Linked DNA regions of Homo sapiens: region 2 is linked to region 1. The links are contacts of gene promoters, found by promoter capture Hi-C in blood cells and fetal thymus (Javierre and others, 2016). All regions are on one chromosome and are shown on one strand. The core of a region is centred on a gene start or on the middle of the fragment in contact, and the rest is flanking DNA. Distances in the headings are between cores, read along the strand shown.

What was found. Contacts are between HindIII fragments. The CHiCAGO score rates a contact against its expected background, and 5 or more counts as called.
Region 2: a fragment that was not itself captured here is called in contact with the fragment with the promoter of CTSW in region 1 in 16 of 17 cell types (erythroblasts, naive CD4 T cells, naive B cells and 13 more); the score reaches 14.9 in erythroblasts.

What each region holds. Positions count from the first base shown.
Region 1 is chr11:65,877,627-65,882,376 of GRCh38, reverse strand. It overlaps CTSW (cathepsin W), which reads right to left and starts at 2,540. Exons shown (of 10, transcript NM_001335.4): 1 at 2,436-2,540; 2 at 2,091-2,175; 3 at 857-970; 4 at 48-202. The coding sequence starts at 2,522. The HindIII fragment of the contact is 11,122 bases long and covers 1-3,104 here.
Region 2 is chr11:65,991,189-65,995,807 of GRCh38, reverse strand. No RefSeq gene overlaps it. Among named protein-coding and RNA genes, the nearest start is that of EIF1AD, 8.7 kb to the left of the region's middle. The HindIII fragment of the contact is 2,532 bases long and covers 1,341-3,872 here.

The sequences.
Region 1 (4,750 bases), core at 1,291-3,790:
CTCCCACCACTTAGCTGAATTAGAGCCAGCTGGGTAGCGGCAGATACCTGGTCCTTGATGGGTGAGATGGCGCTGGCCACCTTCCGCCAGTCACAGCTGAAAGGTACTGACTCCTCTGGCTCTTCAGACCTTATTTCTCTGCCCATGCTGGGGACCCCTCCAGCTGCCCTCCGATAGCCATAGAGCTGGCCAAACTCCTCCTCTGGGGAACAGACAGGGCCACTGAGGTCTCCATTTTGACCCCTTCTCCCTGTTCTGCCTCTCCCACTCCAGCTGTTGGTCCCATAATTCCCTGAGGGGCAAAAAGGCAAGGATAGGCCGGGCGTGGTGGCTCACACCTATAATCCCAGCACTTTGGGAGGCCAAGGTGGGTGGATCACTTGAGGTCAGGAGTCCGAGACCCCATCTCCACAAAAAGTAGAAAAATTAGCTGGGCGTGGTTGTGCGGGCTTGTAGCCCCAGCTACTTAGAAGGCTGAGGGGTCGGGGGAATTGCTTGAGTCTAGGAGGTGGAGGCTGAGTGAGCTGTGATTGCACTATTGTACTGCAGCCTGGACAACAGAGCAAGACCCTGTCTCAAAAAGGCAAGGGTGCCAAGCCTAGAGAGGCTGGGCTCCCTGCTGGGTGCTTCCCTGCAGCTGCTGCGCTGGCCCCTAGGCTGGATTAGGACACAGGACTGCAGAGATTCTGCCCCTGCACTGGGTGATTTGATACCAGCACCCAAGCCCCTGGTCCTCAGGGAAATGAATTTCCTTCCCTGGGAAGTAAAAATTGAAGGTCCGCTGGGTCCAGCTGCCAGTGTCCCTGGGGAGATCGCTTCCCAACCACCACCTACGAGCCAGAAGGGTTAATGGTACCTGTGAGGTCACTGAATGGAGTCACCCCAAACTCAGCTGTGCCCAAGTCCTCCTCCTGCAGCCTCTGAGCCTGGGCCAGGTTGTGGGCAAAGATGTCCAGGCGGTGAGCATGCTCTGGACCAAAAGGGAGTTGTCCTAGGCTGACTCCCAAGCCCTTAGGGGCAGGAAGTAGCCGCTGGCTGGGCACCCTTCCACCCACACCCACCCAGTTGAGCACTGGCTCCTTTCCTGTAGCCCCCACAAGGCCCCACTGCAGATACCCAGGCCCAGGAAGTGGTTACCCAGCCCACCGAGGGTTGGGTTTTCCCCAGAGGCAGCCAGAGGACCATCTCTGGCCACCCTAGGTGGGAAGCCAGGCAAGGGGTCCGGTGGTGGTGACTCAAGGATGTGTGGCTGGAGACCAGCTTCCTGCCAGGCCACGTCCTTTACACCTCTGACCACAGGAGGAGAGCTGGAACATGGCAGGGAGAGGAGATGACAAGGCACAGGCAGTCTGGGCTAAAAGGCACACACAGATCAGCCCCCTAGAGAGATCAGCACAGCGAGAGGGCAGGGGCAGGGGTTAGATCATGGGCTAGAGAAGAAGTCCCCAATGTGGGGACAAAATGGGTGTCCTTGGGTGTTTGCTGAATGAGCAAATGACTAGGTGGTGGCCCCCTGTCCACTGCCTAGAATCGCAGGGAAGTGGCTGTGGAGCCAGGGGATCACGTAGGACTAGGGCAGGACCCCACCTCCTGCCACTGCCCTCCAGATCCATAGCAAAGAATGATCCTGGACCCACTCATGCCTTCGGGAAACCAGGGAACACACCCCCAGCCCTGGCCTGTCCTGCTGAGTGGCCTTGGCCATGCCTGTTCCCCACCCTGAGCTTCGATTTCTTCATCTATTACAAAGCGGGATGGCTGGGCTCCGTGGCTTACACCTGTAATCCCAGCCCTTTGGGAGGCCGAGGCAGGCGGATCACCTGATGTCAGGAGTTCAAGACCAGCCTGGCCAACATGGTCAAACCCCATCTCTACTAAAAATGTAAAGGTTAGCCAAGTGTGGTGGCGCATGCCTGTAATCCCAGCTACTCAGAGGCTGAAGCAGGAGAATCGCTTGAACCCGGGAGGTGGAGGTTGCAGTGAGCCAAGATGACACCATTGCACTCCAGCCTGGTCAACAAGAGTGAAACTCCGTCTCAAAAAAAAAAAAAGTGGGGGCTTGGACTGGAGATGTATGTGCCCTGTGATACCTTCTGGGCTCAGGTAACTCCGGTTGAACTGGATCTGGAACAACTTGAAGGCCTCTTTCAGCTCTAGCGGCTGGGGACCTAGGTCCTGGCAAGGAACCAAGGGTGGAGAGGGGCAGTGGGCAGAGGAATCATTGCTGGGGCCCCACCTTAGTTCCCAGCCGTGCAAGGACTGGGCTAGGGGTCAGCCAGTTAGCCTTTTCTGTCTTCCCATGTGCCCTTGGGCACGTCAGCCCCCTCTCCAGCCTCAGCAACTCCCTCTGAAAAATGAGAATGACAGGCCAGCTGTTTCTGAAGGGGTGACCCCAGGCGTGGGACTGGCATAGGTAAGGGTTTGGGAGCACTTACCTGGGCCCTAAGGGGGCCTCTGATGCCTTGGGCTAGGCCTGCCACCAACAGGGCCAGGAGGCAGGAGGGGTGGGCAGTCAGTGCCATGCCGGTGCAGTCTGGAGTGGCATGGAGGCAGGAAGCCGCGCAGATCGAGGAGGACGGTGTGAGGGTGGGGCTGGAGAAACCACGAAGGGGAAGACAGGCTTGGTGGGTGGAGGGTGGACCCCTAGAACCCACAAGTTGCTCAGGCCTTCAGGCTTTCAGTCCCTGCCTGTCTGCTCCCCATCCCACCCCTTTTTCTTTCTTTCTTTCTTTCTTTTTTTTTTCCACCCAGGTTGGAGTGCAGTGGCATGATCTCGGCTCACTGCAACCTCCACCTCCCGGGTTCAAGCAATTCTCCTGCCTCAGCCTCCCGACTAGCTGGGACTACAGGCATGCACCACCATGCCCAGCGAATTTTTTGTATTTTCAGTAGAGACAGCATTTCACCATGTTGGTCAGGCTGGTCTCCAACTCCTGACCTCAGGTGATCCACCTGCCTCAGCCTCCCAAAGTGCTGGGATAACAGGCATGAGCCACTGCGCCCAGCCAAGGGAACCACTCTTGCTCATCCTATGAAGCTCAGTCAGCTCAATGGCCGCCTCTTTCAAGAAGCCTTCCCTGCTTCCCCAACCTCTGGTAGAAGCTTTGCAGCCCCTTCAGCCCAGCTGCACCTGTGCCCATTGGGCATCTGCCTCCAACCACACCAGAAGTGTTCAGTTCGCTTGTGTCCTCGGTGTCCTCGGTTCCCAGGATAGGGCTAGGCATGAGTCAGGCTCGCTAGGTGTTTGTTGACTGAACAATTGATCATCATGAGTTTTAAACAGGAAAGCAGGCCGGGCATAATGGCTCATGCCTGTAATCTCATCACTTTGGGAGGCCAAGGTAGGAGAATCATTTGAGCTCAGGAGTTGGAGACAAACTTGGACAACTGAGCAAGGCTTCATCTCTACTTAAAAAAAAAAAAGTTAGCCAAGCATGGTGGTGCTCTCCTGTAGTCCCAGCTACTGGGGAGGCTGAGGCCAGTGGGATTGCTTGAGCCTGGAAGATTAAGGCTGCAGTGAGCTATGATCATGCCTCTGCACTCCAGCGTGGGTCCAAGATCCTGTGTCAAAAAAACAAAACCAGGCCAGGCACGGTGGCTCACGCTTGTAATCCCAGCACTTTGGGAGGCCGAGGCGGGTGGATCACCTGAGGTCAGGAGTTGGAGACCAGCCTGGCCAACATGGTGAAACCCTGTCTCTACTAAAAATACAAAAAAGCAGCTGGGCATGGTGGCGGGCGCCTATAATCCCAGTTACTCGGGAGGCTGAGGCACAAGAATCACTTGAACCTGAGAGGTGGAGGTTGCAGTGAGCCGAGATCGCACCATTACACTCCAGCCTGGGCAACAAAAGTGAAACTCCATCTCAAAAAACAAAACAAAACAGGAAAGCGCAGAGTCAGAGTCCGGGAGCAGCAACTGCAGCCAGTGCCTCCCGTTCCTCATCCCTCCCACGGTCTAGGGATGAGGATGAGGGGGCTGAAGAGCCAGAAGGATAACAGGGTGAGCATCACAGACGGAGGGAGGCCAAAGCCTGACTTGTGAGGTCAAGGGCTGGGCAGCAGCATTAACACCCGTTACTGCTGCCTTTGTTCTAAGTGGGTCCTTGGGCTGGGGACCTCCCCTATAGGAGTTCAGGCTGAGAACTGGTGACCAAGACCAGAGAAGGGTGTGAAGAGCTGGCTTTCTAGGGTTCCATGGGGTGGGAGACAGGACAGCTATAATCCTGGGATTTATTCACTTACATGCTCACTACTGCGTTTCTTTTTTTTGTTTGTTTTTTTGAGACGGAGTCTCGCTCTGTCGCCCAGGCTGGAGTGCAGTGGTGCGATCTCGGCTCACTGGAACCTCCACCTCCTGGGTTCACGCCATTCTCCTGCCTCGGCCTCCCGAGTAGCTGGGACTACAGGCACCCGCCACCACGCCCGGCTAATTTTTTGTATTTTTTAGTAGAGACAGGGTTTCACCATGTTAGCCAGGATGGTCTTGATCTCTTGACCTCGTGATCCGCTCGCCTCGGCCTCCCAAAGTGCTGGGATTACAGGCGTGAGCCACCACGCCCGGCCTACCATGTTTCTTTATTAGGATTCCTCCCAGAGTCGTGAGGCCACACTTTGTCACCCTGCCCAGAGAGTAAACCAAGGGGCTTCTCTATCTGAAAAGCATGCTGCTGCCTTTATTGAAATGCAGTGGACAGACCATCCCCAGAGTGGTGCCTGGCCCTGTGGTTCTAGAGCCCAGTTATGGGCCC
Region 2 (4,619 bases), core at 1,357-3,856, 110 kb before region 1:
GGGTTTCACTCCTGTCACCCAGGCTGGAACACAGTGATGCAATCATGGCTCATTGCAGCCTCCACCTCCTGGGCTCAAGCGATCCTTCTACCTCAGCCTACTGCGTAGCTGGGACCACAGGTGTGCACCACCACATCGGGCTAATTTTTCTTTTTCTATTTTTTTTTTTTTTTTTTTTTGTAGAGCCAGTCTTATTATGTTGCCCAGGCTGGTCTCAAACTCCTGGGCAAGCCATCCTCCCGCCTCAGCCTCCCAGAGGGCTGGGATTCCAGGCGTGAGCCACTATGTCCACCCAAGAAGTGGTATCTTAACAGTTTATTTTTAGTTTTGTTTAAATAAATATTGTAGAAAAATTAACAGTTTTTCATCTTCCTGTCCAGAAATGAGGTATGTTCTTTGGTAAGGTGGTGTGGTCTTCAAATGGGCCTTTACTTCCAATTTGGTTTAGTCTTAGGAGTTTTATGAAAGTCCTAGTTACTGGTAGTGAAGGATCTGTGGAAATCACCTTTCCCCATCCCTGGCATCCACCTGTGTGTCCATCTTTGTGTTGCCCACCTTGTCGAATGCGCAGTTCTTCAGTTGATCTTGTGGCTTTATAGATAGCCAAATCGTATCCCACTAATGACAGTTTTATCTCCTCCTTTACACTCATGTCTATTTCTTGTGAATCTCAGAGGCCAGGACCTCCACCGTGGTTGCATGGCACCCTTGATTGATGTTTTCTCAGTGGGAATGGTTCTCACGTTGCGTCCTGAGGTAGGACGCTTGCTCTGGGCTTCCGGTAGATGATCTTCATTAGACTGAAGATGTTTTCTTTGTTCCATCTTACTGTTTTTTTTTTCTCCTTCGCTTTTGTTTAACAGTGATGAATGTTGACATCTATGGAGAAAATCAAAAGATTTTATTGTATGATTGTACTGAGTTACAGTAATAGGTTTCCTAATGTTGGACACACCTTACTTTCTGATATAAACCTTGCTTAGTTTTACAGTATATTATGTATTTACTTAGGAGTTTTATCTCTCTCCCTGGGCCAATCCCCTCCCTCTTTTTAAAAAATGACCTTCCTGTTCTATTTCGAGATTAGCTTTATGCTAGCCTTGCAAATGGGTTTGGAGACGTCTTTTTCTTCAGGCTTGAATACTTTATAGGCCAGGCATTTGTTTCTTCAACGTTGTGAACTTGTTTACAAAAACATCTGTGCTGGGTACCTTTTTCAGGGGTGGATCTTTCACTGCCTTTTAGTTTATTCAGTTGTGTTCTGTCTAAAGTTTTCTATCCTTGAGTCAATTTTGATCATTTGTATCATTCCAGGATCATATTTCATATATATTTAAGCTTTTTGGGCAAAAGTTCATGCATAATATTTGTATTATTTGGAACTTTCTTTTTTTGTTTGTTTGTTTTTGTTTTGTTTTTGAGGCAGAGTTTCACTGTGTCGCCCAGGCTTGAGTGCAGTGGTGCAGTATCGGCTCACTGTAACCTCCACCTCCCGGGTTCAAGTGATTCTCCTGCCTCAGCCTCCCAAGTAGCTGGAATTACAGGCACCCGCCACCACACCCAGCTAATTTTTGTATTTTTAGTAGAGATGGGGTTTTGCCATGTTGACCAGGCTGGTCTCAAAGTCCTGACCTCAGGTGATTGGCCCCCCTCAGCCTCACAAAGTGCTGGGATTACAAGGGTGAGCCACTGCACCCAGTAATTTTTTTTTTTTTTTTGAGACAGCCTCTCACTCTGTTGCCCAGGCCATCATGGCGCCACTGCAGCCTTGACCTCCCAGGCCCAAGTGATTCTCCCACCTCAGCCTCCTGAGTAGCTGGAACCACATGTGCGCGCCACCACACCTGGCTAATTTTTTTTATTTTTAGTAGAGACAGGCTCTCCCTATGTTGCCCAGGCTAGTCTCGAACTCCCAGGCTCAAGTGATGCTCCTGCCCTGGCCTCTCAAAGTACTGGGATTACAGGTGAGAGCCACCATCCTGGCGTATGCGGGACTTTCTTATAAATGACAAAATTGAACTCAAATTAGGAGAAGTAAGCAAGGCTCATTGACCTGAGGTCTCTGAGTGGTGCGCATCGGGCAGGGATGAACCAATGCCAGCAGCATGAATTCCTCAGGCTCTCTCATTTATCTCTGTCATCTCTGCTCCCGGCTGATTAATTTCTTTCCCTCCTACAGATGTTTTCTGTAGAAAGCTCAAGTTTTTTTTTTTTTTTTTTTTTTGAGACGGAGTCTCGCTGTTGCCCAGGCTGGAGTGCAATGGCGCGATCTCGGCTCACTGCAGGCTCCGCCCCCCGGGGTTCACGCCATTCTCTTGCCTCAGCCTCCTGAGTAGCTGGGACTACAGGCGCCCGCCACCACGCCCGGCTAATTTTTTGTATTTTTAGTAGAGACAGGGTTTCACCGTGTTAGCCAGGATGGTCTCGATCTCCTGACCTCGTGATCCGCCTGCGTCGGCCTCCCAGAGTGCTGGGATTACAGGCATGAGCCACTGCGCCCAGCCAGGACGCTCAAGTTTATACACAGTCCTTGTAGACAGAGCCCCTTGGGGCTCTTGAGGATCCCTGTATTTCCGTGAAGGGCGATTGATCTTCCTCAGGTCACTTGCTGTGCTTGAGCAGTCACTGTGGCCAGGGCCGGGGGGTGGGAGGGTGTGGAGGACTGGGGTGGGGCAGGATGAGCCACAAGTAATTTTTATATGTTTCCCATGGAATAGAGAGGTTCTATTACCAGAAAAAGTGGGGCAAGGGGTGAGGGCAGGTGAAATCAACAAAATATGTTTATATTTTGTGTATTTTATTTGGCTAGCTTTGCAAGAGGTCTTCCTTACTGGACTTTTCCTTCGTTTCTTTGGGTTTATTTGCTCATTCTGGGTTCTTGAGATGTGTGCTTAGCTAATTTAATTTCAATTTGTTTTCTAATATATTCAGGGCTATATGTTTTCTTCTAAATAGTCCTTTGACTGTTCCCCACTTTGTGTGTGTGTGTTTTGGCGTTTTATCTGTAAACTTGGTCTTATGTTCTTCTCCATTCTCTCAGTGATACTGTGATCCACCTAGTAACATCTTTTTTTCCCCCTAAAACCTTTTCGTTTCCACTTCTTCATCTCTTACCAGCCATTCAGCTTCTGTGGGCTGTAGCTAAGGGTACTGATGGAGGTAGGGTCCTTGTATTCTGCATGCTACTTTCCTATGTCATTCTCTGAAGCTGGATTCCACCTCTGTTCTTCCAACTGAATGGTGGGATCCAACCATGTATGAATAGATCTCCCTGAGTGAGCTGAGATCTGATGTAAGAGCCCCTTGTCCCGATGTCATGGCCAGTCCCTGTGACTGGCTGCCTAATAGTACTTACTGGCTTCTCTTGCAGTTATGCTTGAGACTTTGTGGCCCTTCAGAATCTGTACCTCTGTCACTTCAGGACTAACCTCTACAGCCAGGTCATTTCCACCAGGGCTTCCCCGTGTGGCCCAGTGCGCTTTCCCCCCTTGCCACCCAGCCACCCCTGTGTGTGTGCCAGGGAGCACAGATGGCAGTCTGAGCTCACCACATGGTTTTCCTCTTCTAATCTGTAAATGTGGTGGAGTATCATAACATTCTCTCACGTTAAGATATCCTTGCATTCCTGGAAGAAGACAGTCACAATGGATTTGTTATTATACTGCCGGATTTGGTTCTCTGGTATTTTGGCATCCAGGTGTATAGGTGAAATGGTTTAAGGTTTTCCTTTTCCGTACTGCCCCCACCCTTTGTTTTGTATCAAGGTTATACCAGCTTCATATAAATAAGTTGGAAAGTGTTTTCCCTTTATTTTCATTACGAGAGTTTGTATAAGATTGGAATTTTGCATTTCTACAATTTTTGGTAAAGCTTGCTGTAAAACCAACCATGCCTGGCGATTTTTTGGGTGGGTGGGTAGGTAGGTTTGGAATTAGATTGTCAGTGGTAATAGATTACTCAGGTGTTCTGTTCTTCAGTCATATTTTCAAGGAAAAATATTTTCATGTTATTTATTTATTTATTTATTTTTGAGACAGGATCTTGCTCTGTCGCCCAGGCTGGAGTGCAGTGGCCCCATCTCGGCTCACTGCAACCTCCGCCTCCCGGGTTCAAGTGATTCTCCTGCCTCAGCCTCCCGAATAGCTGGGATTACAGGTATGTGCCACCATGGCCGGCTAATTTTTGTATTTTTAGTAGAGATGGGGTTTCACCATGTTGGCCAGGCTGGTCTCAAACTCCCGATCTCAGGTGATCTGCCCACCGCAGCCTCCCAAATTGCTGGGGTTACAGGCGTGAGCCACCACACCCAGCCCCCATATTTTCTCATGTTTGCTATGGCTTCAAACTTACTGGCGCAAAGTTATTTGTATGATTGCCTTATGTTTGTAATCTTGGCTGTATCCAAAGTTATGTCCCCCTTTTTACATGTAATATTGTTTATTTGTGCCTTCTCTCTGTTATAGCTGGTCAATCTTGGCAGAAGGTCATTATTAGTCTTTTCTAAGCACCAGCTTTTTGTTGTCATTCTTTGTATTGGTATTTCATTAATTGCTGCTCTTACCGTATTTCCCACTTATACTCCCTTTGTTTTTGTTTGTTTTTGTTTTTTTCTCATAACC